Regions from separate parts of the Homo sapiens genome. Here region 1 is linked to region 2. Evidence: promoter capture Hi-C in 16 types of primary human blood cells and fetal thymus (Javierre and others, 2016). All regions are on one chromosome and are shown on one strand. The core of a region is centred on a gene start or on the middle of the fragment in contact, and the rest is flanking DNA. Distances in the headings are between cores, read along the strand shown. Region 1 overlaps UQCRC2 (ubiquinol-cytochrome c reductase core protein 2). Region 2 holds the start of CDR2 (cerebellar degeneration related protein 2).

The links. The method cuts DNA at HindIII sites, captures the fragments that hold promoters and counts their contacts. A CHiCAGO score of 5 or more calls a contact.
Region 1: a contact is called between a fragment that was not itself captured here and the fragment with the promoter of CDR2 in region 2, in 1 of 17 cell types (non-activated CD4 T cells). The highest score is 5.8, in non-activated CD4 T cells.

What each region holds. Positions count from the first base shown.
Region 1 is chr16:21,956,282-21,962,044 of GRCh38, reverse strand. It overlaps UQCRC2 (ubiquinol-cytochrome c reductase core protein 2), which reads right to left. Exons shown (of 14, transcript NM_003366.4): 2 at 4,727-4,810; 3 at 4,479-4,628; 4 at 3,446-3,510. It also overlaps a transcript of PDZD9 not described here. Among named protein-coding and RNA genes, the nearest start is that of UQCRC2, 5.8 kb to the right of the region's middle. The HindIII fragment of the contact is 673 bases long and covers 1,945-2,617 here.
Region 2 is chr16:22,373,176-22,378,963 of GRCh38, reverse strand. CDR2 (cerebellar degeneration related protein 2) reads left to right here and starts at 4,345. Exons shown (of 5, transcript NM_001802.2): 1 at 4,345-4,733. The coding sequence starts at 4,655. It overlaps CDR2-DT (CDR2 divergent transcript), which reads right to left and starts at 4,077. Exons shown (of 3, transcript NR_148970.1): 1 at 3,741-4,077; 2 at 3,404-3,637; 3 at 784-823. RefSeq lists enhancers at 3,573-3,622, 3,963-4,042 and a silencer at 4,583-4,812. The HindIII fragment of the contact is 4,746 bases long and covers 3,494-5,788 here.

The sequences.
Region 1 (5,763 bases), core at 1,032-3,531, 410 kb after region 2:
AGGTGGGAGAAGATAGAAAAGTTCCGGAGCTGAATGTTGGTGATGGTTGCTGAATGCCACTTAACTGCACACTTAAGAAAATGATAAATTTGGGCCGGGCGCAGTGGCTCACACCTGTAATCCCAGCACTTTGGGAGGCCGAGGTGGGCGGATCACTTGAGGTCAGGAGTTTGAGACCAGCCTGGCCAACAGGGTGAAACCATGGTCTCTACTGAAAATACAAAAATTAGCCAAGCATGGTGGCGCACGCCTGTAATCCCAGCTACCACGGAGGCTGAGGCAGGAGAATCGCTTGAACCCAAGAGGCGGAGGTTACAGTGAGCCAAGATCATGCCACTGCACTCCAGCCTGGGCGACACAGCGAGACTGTCTAAAATATATATATATATATATATATATATATATATATATATATATAAATTTTATGTTATATACATTTGACCACAATTTTTTAAAATGGCAAATAAAGTTGAAGATCTTTTCGTACCCTTCCAAGACCAATTCCCTCACTCTCTCCCACTCTGGAAACCACAATCATAAGCACTACATAGTATTTTTCTGCTTAAAAAATTAAAATACCTTAAAGAAATCTTGAAACTTGCTTGTTCACACTCTATTTTGCCCTTCAGTTGTGCTATGTTGACGTATGGATCTAGTTCATTCCGTAATGGCTGTATAGTGGTCTCATCATGACTCTGTCATACTTTACCCATTTCCCTAAAGATGGACACTTAGATCGTTTCCAGTCTTTATAAAGAATACCTTTGTGAATGTGATTAAAAACTGTGGGGTTTTTCAATATTACCAGATATTCCTTGATTCTTTCCTAAGTGGTTGTATCAATTTATACTCCTATCAGCAGAATGAGACATTCTCTATCATCTTTACCACTGACAACACAATATATAAAAAATCTGGGCTGGGTGCAGTGGCTCACATCTGCAATCCCAGCATGCTGGGCTGAGGTGAGAGGATCACCTGAGGCCAGGAGTTCAAGACCAGTCTGGGCAACATAGTGAGACCTCCATTTGTACAAAAAATAAAAAATTAGCCAGGCATGGAGTCATGTGCCTATAGTCCTAGCTACTTGGGAAGCGGAGGGAGAAGAATCGCTTGGGCCCAGGAGTTCAAGGCTGCAATAAGGTATGTCTGCACCACTCCACTCCAGCCTGGGAAACAGAGCAAGACCCTGTCTTTAATATAAATTAATTAAAAAAAAAGAAATGCTGTTTCTGTCCTGAGTGTTCCACTGACCAGCTGCTCCCCAAGTCTTTCTCCCTCTCTTTGGATATTCCTACTCCTGAGACACAACAATATTGAAATTAAGCTAATGAATAACCCGACAATGGCCCCTAAGTATACAAGTGAAAGGAAGAGTCTCATGTCTCTCACTTTAAATCAGAAGCTAGAAAGGATTAAGCTTCTAAGGAAGTCAGGAAGGCATGTTAAAAACGGATACAGGTCAAAAGCTAGGCCTCTTGCACCAGTGCAGTTCTTGAAGAAAACTAATAGTGCTACTCCACTGAACACATAAATGATATGAAAGCAAGACAGACTTATTGCTGATAATACAGAGTTTTACTGGTCTGGATTAGATCAAACTGTATTCCCTTAAGTCAAAGCTTAATCCAGAGCAATGCCCTAACTCTCTTCAATTATATGAAGGCTGAGAGAGGTGAGATGCAGAAGAAAAGTCTGAAGCTAGCCGTGGTTAGTTCATGAGCTTTAAGGAAAGAAGCCATCTTCTTAATATAATAGTACACAGTGAAGCAGCAAATGCTAATATAGAAGCTGCAGCACGTTATCCAGAAGATCTACATAAGATCATCGATGAAGGTGGCTACACTAAACCACAGATTTTCAATGCTGACAAAACAGCCTTACATTGGAAGATGCCGTCCAGGACATTCGTAGCTAGAGAAGTCAATGCCTGGCGTCAAAGCTTCAAACGACAAGCTGACTCTTGTTGGGGACTAATGCAGCTGGTGACTTTAGGATGAGGTCATTTACCATTCTCAAAATCCTAGAGCCCTTAGGAATTATGCTAAATCTACTCTGCCTATGCTCTGTAAATGAACAAAAAAGCCTGGATGATAGTACATCTGTTTATAGCATGGTTGACTGAATATTTTAAGCCCATTGCTCAGAAAAAAGATTCCTTTCAAATTATTACTGCAACAATGCCAAGAGCTCTGATGCAGATGTACAAGGAGATTGACACTGTTTTCATGCCTGCTAATAGAACATCCCTTCTGCACCCCATGGATCAAGGAGTAATTTTTATTTTCAAGTCTTATTATTTAAGAAATACATTTTGTAAGGCTACAGCTACCACAGATAGTGAAGACGCTGATGGATCTGGGCAAAGTAAATTAAAAAACTTTCTGGAAAGAATTCACCATTCTAGACACCATTAAGAACATTTGTGACTCATGGGAGGATGTCAAAGTATCAACATTAACGTGAGTTTGGAAGAAGCCAATTCCAACCCTTATGGATGACTCTGAGAGGCAAGACTTCAGAGGGGGAAGAAACTGCAACTATGGTGGGAGTAGCAAGAGAACTAGAAGTGGGGCCTGAAGATGTGACTGAATGGCTGCAATCTTATGATAAAGCTTGAACAGATGAGGAGATGCTTCTTATGGATGAGCAAACAAAGTGGTTTCTTGAGATAGAATCTGCTCCTGGTTGAAGATGCTGTGAACACTGTCGAAATGATAAAAAAGAATATTACATAATCTTGGTTGATAAAAAAGTGGTAAGGTTTGAGATGACTGACTAATTTTGAAAGAAGTTCTGTGGGTAAACGGCTAAAAACAACATCTCATGCTACAGAGAAGTCTTTCACAAAAGGAAGAGTCAATCAATGCAGCAAACTTCACTGTTGTCTGATTTTAAGAAATTATCAGTCACCACCACCTTCAGCAACCACCACCTTGATCAGTCATCAGCCATTAACGTGGAGGCAAGACCCTCCACCAGCAAAGATTATGACTTGCTGAAGATTCAGATAACTGTTAACATTTTTAAAGCAATAAAATATTTTAAAATTAAGGTTATGTACTTTTTTTCCAAGACAAAATGTCATTGTACACTTAGTAGACCACAGTATAGTGTAAACATAACTTTTATATGCACTGGGAAACCACAAAATTCCTATGACTTGCTTTGCTGCAATATTCCCTTCATTGTGGTGGTCTGGAACAGAACCTGCAACATCTCTGAGGTATGCCTATATATTGCAGATATCTACTCCCAGACAGTTACTTAAATTTTTACTTTAAGACATAAAGATGTTTTACAGTTTGATATACTCAAATTCATCAGTCTTTTCCTTCTTATGTTGCTTAAGAAATCCTCAACCTCCTTGATAACAGAGAAAAGTTCCCTTAAAATTGAATATTTTCTGGCATTTTCACTATTTTCTATTACTTATTTAACAAACCTTAATTTGCCACCAACTGCTTCAATTCCACGGGTTATCTTGAAAGATGAAGCTCCTTTTGTCGTCTTGAAAAAGAAAGAATGATTATCTTTGTAGCTTTTCAATGCCAAGTTTGCCAAACATCACACTATATCAAAATCTGTTGTGAGCAGATTTAAAAAGAATTTTACTAAATTCCTGCATCCTTTTTAGTTAAGAATTATAAAACAAGGCTCAACAAAAAGCTTAAGTATACATTTTTACATTAAGTACATTCATGTAAAATTTCCACTGTCAAATACAAGCTTACTGGATTCATTAGTCTATTCTGAAAGAGACTTGTATATGGGAAAAAAAGAGTTAATTTTCTTTCAATTTGCGGCACTTCCTGTTAAAAATTTGTTTACTGATTTCTTATGCTCTAACATCAACATTCATATGGATACTAATTTAGTGCTTCTCTGTGGCAAATATCTTGTGGTTTCTCATTTTACATTAGGGGACAGTACTGGGTTTAACAGTGTTCCCCCCCAAATTTATGTCCAGCCAGAATATTTGCATGTTACTTTATTTGGTAATAAGGTCTCTGCAGATTTAAGTACTTAAGATGACATCATATTGAATTATAGTGGGCACTAAATCTAATGTAACTGGTATCCTTATCAGGAGGAAATGTGGACACAGACAGAAGGAAGGCCATGTGACAACAAAGGCAGAGACTGCAGTGATGCAGTTGCAGGTCAAGGAACATGAAGGGTTGTGGGCAACTGCTGGAAGCTAGGAACAGGCAGGGGAGGATTTGTGCCTTCCTAGAACCTTTAGAGGGATCACAGCCCTGCTGATATCTTGGCTTGGCTTAGACACCTTGACTTGGACTTCTAGCCTCTAGAACTGTAACAGGATAAACTTATTTGGTTTAAGCTACCCAGTCCGTGGTAATTTGTTATGGCAGGTCAAGGAATCAAAATATAAAGACATTGATCTTAGTTTTTCTTTTTCACAGGACCAAGATACCACAGCATTTCCAAACACTTGAGGAAGTGAAGATACTCACCAGACTGGATGTAAGACGCAGCAAATGGGTGGTTCCTAAATTGCTGAAGTCCTCATATCTACTGCCTGCTTTAATGAACAAACCAATTCTTGATACAGGAGAATAGTTTTCCAAAGAAGCAATCACCAAGCCATTTGGTAACTTGGTAAACTGTATTTAAAATAAAGTAGAGATATAATGAATGTCTTCGTATTACCAAGGAGAGTAAGGCATGTATAGCTTCCAGCGAGCAAGTTAGTGGGACTAACCTCAAGGTCCTGAGGTTGTGGCGGTGCTCCTGCAGGCGCAGCTGTGGCTTTAACTTTGGGGGCAACTTTGAGGGAATAAAATCTCTAAACATAAAAAACACAGGTTACACGTATTTCTCACAAGAACAGTGCTTTATATAAAAGCATGGTATCTTAGGGTACCCAAGCGACAGAGGGTGTTCGGGGGTGGAAGGAGCAATAACCACCTCCATGGGAGGATTTACCTGCATAACATTTTTTTTTTTTTTTTGAGACAGAGTGTCTCTCTGTCGCTCAGGCTGGAGTGCAGTGGCGCAATCTCAGCTCACTGCAACCTCTACCTCCTGGGTTCAAGCCATTCTCCTGCCTTAGCCTCCCAAATAGCTGGAATTACAGGTGCGTGCCACCATGTCCAGCTAGTTTTTGTTTTGTATTTTTTAGTAGAGATGGGGTTTCACTGTGTTGGCCAAGCTGGTCTTGAACTCCTGATCTTAAGTGATCTGCCCACCTTGGTCTCCCAAAGTGTTGGAATTACAGGCGTGAGCCACTGCACCCCGCCTAGCTGCATAACTTATTATGGACTTACTAACCCACCAGTTTACCCAAGCCATTCTTAAACCTCTATTTATTAGTGATTTATAGAGTTCTTGATGCTTATTTTTTAAATGATGTAAAGAATCACTGTATTTTCTTATCTTTCAGTTACCTTATAAAAGTTTCATGGTTCTGTGTAGTTCTAAAGCTTTGGCATTTTTTGAAAAAGTGTCAGATCACCCCATCCACAACCTTTTTTGTTGAGTTGGAGTCGTGCTCTGTGTCCCACGCTGGAGTGCAACAGTGCGATCTCGGGTCATTGCAATGTCTGCCTCCTGGATTCAAGCGATTCTCCTGTCTCAGCCTCCCAAGTAGCTGGGATTACAGGTACATGCTGCCACGCCTGGCTAATTTTTTGTATTTTAGTAGAGATGGCGTTTCACCCCATAGCTCAGGCTGGTCTCAAACTCCTGAGCTCAGGCAATCCACCCGCCTCGGCCTCACAAAGTGCTAGAATTACAGGT
Region 2 (5,788 bases), core at 3,096-5,595:
GGAAACTTCACCAAATTTAGCACAGAAAACTGACACCAGTTTTTCAATGCAATTTTTGTTCAAGATTTTCCAGGGGAAAAGAAGTTTCCTTAAATAGTGTCCTTAAAAACAACCCAATAACACACCAAAAGACATAAAGTTTGTGGGTTTTTTTGCTTTTTTAAACTATCAATAACTTTATTTATTCACTTATTTATTTTTTTTGAGAGGAAGTCTCACTCTGTTGCCCAGGCTGGAGTGCGGTGGCATGATCTCGGCTCACTGCAACCTCTGCCTCCCGGGTTCAAGTGATTCTCCTGCCTTGGCCTCCCAAGTAGCTGGGATTCCAGGCATGCGCCACCATGCCCAGCTAATTTTTGTATTTTTAGTAGAGACGTGGTTTCACCATGTTGGCCAGGCTGGTCTCAAACTCCTGACCTCGTGATCTGCCCACCTAGGCCTCCCAAAGTGCTGAGATTACAGGCGTGAGCCACCACGCCTGACCCTCAAAAACTTTAATTCTCCATATCTTTCTTTTCTTTTCTTTTCTTTTTTAAAGGAGAATTGTTGACTGGGCGCGGTGGCTCACACCTGTAATCCTAGCACTTTGGGAGGCTGAGGCAGGCGGATCACTTGAGGCCAGGAGTTTGAGATCAGCCTGGCCAACATGGCTAAACCCTGACTCTACTTGAAACACAAAAACTAGCCGAATATGGTGGCACATGCCTGTAATTCCAGCTACTCAGGAGGCTGAGGCACGAGAATCACTTGAACCAGGGAGGTGGAGGTGACAGTGAGCAGAGATGGTGTCACTGCACTCCAGCCTGGGCCACATGGTGAGACTCTGAAAAAGAAAAAAAAAATGGAGAATTGTTAAAGAACATTTCAATATGCATTTGAAGTCAAAATGAGCTTCTGTTTTCGATGGAGCAAACAGCGGGCACTTTGAACCTTGCGAATCAGTGATAAGAATCGTGAAGGGGGCCGTGCACGGTGGCTCACACCTGTAATCCTAGCACTTTGGGAGGCTGAGGCTGGTGGATTGCCTGAGGTCAGGAGTTCAAGTCCAGCCTGGCCAACATGCTGAAACCCCATCTCTATTAAAAATTCAAAAATTAGCCAGGCGTGGTGGTGGGCGCCTTTAATCCCAGCTACTTGGGAGGCTGAGGCAGGAGAATCACTTGAACCCAGGAGGCGGAGGTTGCAGTGAGCCAAGATCACGCCATCGCACTCCAGCCTGGGTGACAAGCGTGAGACTCTCTCAAAAAAAAAAAAAAAAAAAATGCCCCTGCATGATTCTAGCCCTTTAGCTTCCACAAATCACCATTGCCAATTATTCCTAAATCCAACTTGCTATCTTTCCAAAGGGTTCTATCTTTAGTGATTAAGATAGTTTGTTTGAAGTGATCTTATTTCAACTCTGAATATCTCGATGGACAACTAGGGCAGTAGAAGAGGCTTTACAGGACCTCACTTTCTTTTCTTTCTTTCTTTTTTTTTTTTTTTTTTTGAGACAGAGTCTCACTCTATTGCCCAGGCTGGAGTACAGTGTCACGGTCTCGGATCACTGCAACCTCTGCCTCCAAGGTTCAAAGGATTCTTGTGTCTTGGCCTCCCATGTAGCTGGGATTACAGGCTTGCACCACCACTCCCGGCTAATTTTTGTATTTTTAGTAGAGATGGGCCACCTTATTGGCCAGGCTGGTCTTGAACTCCCAACCTCAGGTGATCTGCCTGCCTCAGCCTCCCAAAGAGCTGGGATTACGGCATGAGCCACTGTACACAGCCTTTTTTTTTTTTTTTTTTTTTTTTTTTTTTGAGACAGGGTCTTGCTCTGCTGTCACCTATCATAGCTCATCGTAACCTCAAACTCCTGGACTCAAGCAATTCTCTCACCTCAGCCCCCCAAGTAGCTGGGACTACAGGTGTGCCAGTAACATTTTGCCTTTTTGAAGAAAGGGATTTGTGAGTTTACCATTCCTCTTTTATTATTATTATTACTTTCTAACAGTGTTATTCCTTCTACATTTTTTGCTTGGCATCCTACTGTAAGAAAGTTTTCTTTTCTCTCCCATTTATTTATGTCAGTATGGACTCATGGATTCTTTCCTTTTTATTCAATGGGTTATAATCCATTACTATGATTATTTATTGTGATGCTCATAATTGGTCCTCAAGGGTACCTGCACTTCTACAGTATAGGTCACAAGAACACAGCCTTACATTTAAAATGAGCACAAAATACTTGCTTTCAGGGTCTCTCTGATTCAGATAGCTCTGTGAGCAAGGCAAACAATCATCTTTCCTGTAAACTGTTTGCTAAAAGGCTTCTCTGCTGGTACTGAGTATGGCGAGAACTCTAGGTTTTCTCACTCTAGGTCCCTTGTGCTTTCCACTCTATTCAGCAGTCTCCTTTAAGGACTGAAGGGTAAAACTTCAGGTAACAACTCCACAGTGGGAGGTCTTGTCCTTGGCAAGACTTCTCCAGAGTAGCCTACAGCCTATGTGTAAGGTAACCCTGGAGTCAAGTGCTGTTTGATACAGCATCAGCGTGAGGTTAGGTTATGCTGGTTTGAGCAAAGATGGGAGGCAGAGAGACACCCTGAATTTTATTACCCACAAGAATTATTCAGGATGAGTTTTTCCCCCCTTCCAAATTACCCAAGTCTTTTTTTATACAGAAAGACAAAAAAAGTAGCTTGAGTCTATAATTCCTTCCCTACAATTTCCCTTATTTTTAATGTGCAAGTAACTAAAAAAGCAAGATCACAGAAGGGTTTATAACAAAAAGCCAAAGTCCCCAGCCTCAAATCACTCCTCCTCTTAGGAAAACTTTTTTTTTTTGTTTGGTTTTTGAGACGCAGTTTTTGCCCAGGCTGGAGTGCAATGGCGCAATCTCGGCTCACTGCAACTTCCACCTCCCGGGTTTCAAGCAATTCTCCTGCCTCAGCCTTCCAAGTAGTTGGGATTACAGGCATGCGCCACCACGCCCAGCTAATTTTGTATTTTTAGTAGAGATGGGGTTTCTCCATGTTGGTCAGGCTGGCCTCGAACTCTCGACCTCAGGTGATCCGCCCGCCTCGGCCTCCCAAAATGCTGGGATTACAGGCGTGAGCCACCGTGTCCAGCCTCGGAAAACTCTTAATTGCTTCCCATTTTTAGTTCTGGCAGCTCTCTCCATATTTGTGGAAACTATTCATTGGATTATCAATGTAAGGTATTATCTGTCGACTCACTTCTAAAATAGATCAGGATTTAACACTCCTCTCCACCTCTTCCCTCTCTCTGAATTTCTAACAGTTTATTACCTCATGTTCTAGAGATAATCTTTCAATTGTATACTTAAACCTCGATTTTTTTTTGTTTCGTTGCTCAAAGTTAGTTAGATATTGGCCCTGTTGTCTTCCATCAGCTGCACCTTTACCTTTACGTCAAGGTTGAGAACATTGACCTTCAGGTCTGTCATCCTGCTTAAGAGTTTCCGTGCTTTGTCTGCAAGATGGTGCTTAAAGCTTTACCTAGGAGCAGTATTTGCTGGGTTATGTCGGTGGAGGACAGCGTGCTCTGCCTCGCTGGCTACTAAGTGCTGGAGCTGCAGCCTGTCCCCTCCAGGTGCAATGTCACGTCCCCAGATGCTTAACTTGTGGTCTAGGGGTACCTTTTAAAAATCGTTGCAACACTGCTTACAATTTTCGCCCTCCAAGTGGACAGCTTCGGGCATCCCTCACCGCCCCAGATTCTCAAGGGGGTCTGGTGCCCACCGTTTTATGTAGCGTGAGTTTAATTCCCAGGGCTCAGATGTCAAGGAGACAAGAGCTACCGCTCAGTGGGCGTTTTCTCAACCCAAACTCCCGATCGACCTCGAGTCTCCCCGCCGGACCCGGAGCAAATCTCAGAGTCAAGATGCGAGAAGGGGTGGCCGGGCGGCGGACCTCAGGCTTCCGGCACCCTTGCGCTTCCCGCCGGCACGAAGGACTCCCCTGGACAACCGCCCGCCTCTCAGAGGCCGGAGTCCTAGGCCCTCCGGCCTGCGTTGCCTGTCCACAGACGCGCCGGCCTCGGGACACCCACCACAGGGGTAAGACGCGCCTCTGCCAGCTCCCCAGCCCGAAACCCAGAACGCCCTCCTAGGAGCCTCACAGCGCAGATCAGGGGACGGGCTTTCGGCCGCACCCCTTCACTCTTTCCCCGCCTTCTTTGTTTATTCCGGACCCACCATTGGCTGCTTGCCCTCGATACCGGGCGAGCCGCCGGTCTTTGGAGAGAGGCGATTGGACGAAGTCCCTGCCGCTCGGCCAGCAGCCCGCTCGCGATTGGTTGAGGCGCCGCCGGGGGTTTGAATCGCATCCCCGGCCGGGGAGGGTTCTGCCAAAGTGCCACGTTGGGCCCGGCGGCGGCGTGAAGACTGGCGGCTGCGTGAGACTCCGGCTCCAGGCGTTCGCACCGTAATGCCCGGCCGTTGGGGCCGTCGGTAGGCGCGAGGCGAGTCGAGGCAGCCGGCCGGTCGGCGGCCGCCGGCGGGAACGGGGCTGAGGCGGCGCAGCGGAGTCTGGGCGGCGGCGCGTCCCGCCCGAGGGCGGCTCTGGCTGAGGGCGGAGGGGCCGGGGAAGAGCCCGGGGCAGCGGCTGAGGCGGGACGGCGGCGGGGGCCGCTGCCCCTAGAAGACCCAGCCGAGATGCTGGCGGAAAACCTGGTAGAGGAGTTTGAGATGAAGGAGGACGAGCCGTGGTACGACCACCAGGACCTCCAGCAAGGTGAGGGCGGGGGCGCCCCGCGGGCGGGCGGCGGCCTGGCCCGGGAGGCCCCCGCTGCGAAACTGTTAAAAAGTTGCTTTTTGTGGCGGCGGAGGATGCAGGTGCCGGGAAGGGCTCAGGCTCACCTGGCGGCTGGGCCGGCCGTGCCCGCGGATCCCGCCCGCAGGAAGCCTCGGCACGGGGCCCACGGCCTTGCTAATGCGCAGTTGAATATCAGCCCCGAGGCGCGTGGGGGCCAGGGACGAGCCAGGCACCGTTTTAAGCGCTTTCCGTGGATTAGCTAGTTTAATCCTCACTGCATTCCTCCGAGGCAGACCCGGGTGAGCCAGTGTGTCCCGCAGTAAGTGGCATAGCCCGAGAAGCCGCCCCGTCGCAGGCTGTCTAGCCCAGCGCCTTTCATGGCCAGCGTGGAGGGCCGGCTGCTGCAGGTGGTAGTTGTTTTGCGGCGTAGCGGGAGCTGTGCGCTCCGCACCGTAACTCCAGGAGACAGTAACTTTTTAAAAATTAATGTTTGAGGGTACATGGTAGGTGTATATATTTGTGGGGTACATGAGATGTTTGGATACAGGCACGCAGTGTGAAATAAGCACGTGATGGAGAACGGGGCGTCCATCCCAGCATTTATCCATTGAGGTACAAACAATCCAATTACACACTTTTGTTATCCCATTTTCCATATGAGGAAAGCGGAGATTAAAACGGTAAAGTGGCTTGCCTAAAGCTAAGTGTGGGAGGGAGTGTTTTTTGAACCCACACACTCAGAAGAAGAGTTGTAGTCACTGCTCAAACCCCATCTCTTCCTTACCATCCTAGTTTACAGTTTTTTTCAGTTGGGCGTTAAGCTGTTAGGCATAGTTCACCAGATGCCAATTGAAACGACAGAAGAAAGAGCGCATCTATCTCTGCCACTTTTCTTCAGTTTGCACGCCAGCTTTCACTTAGAAACAGGCCTGCCGATGGTGTCTCCAGAGAACAATCGTAGAGTAGCCCACTCTTTGGGGCCAGTGGGGCCCCTGTTTTTCTTATACTAATAGCAGGAGCTAGCAGTTGGGGAA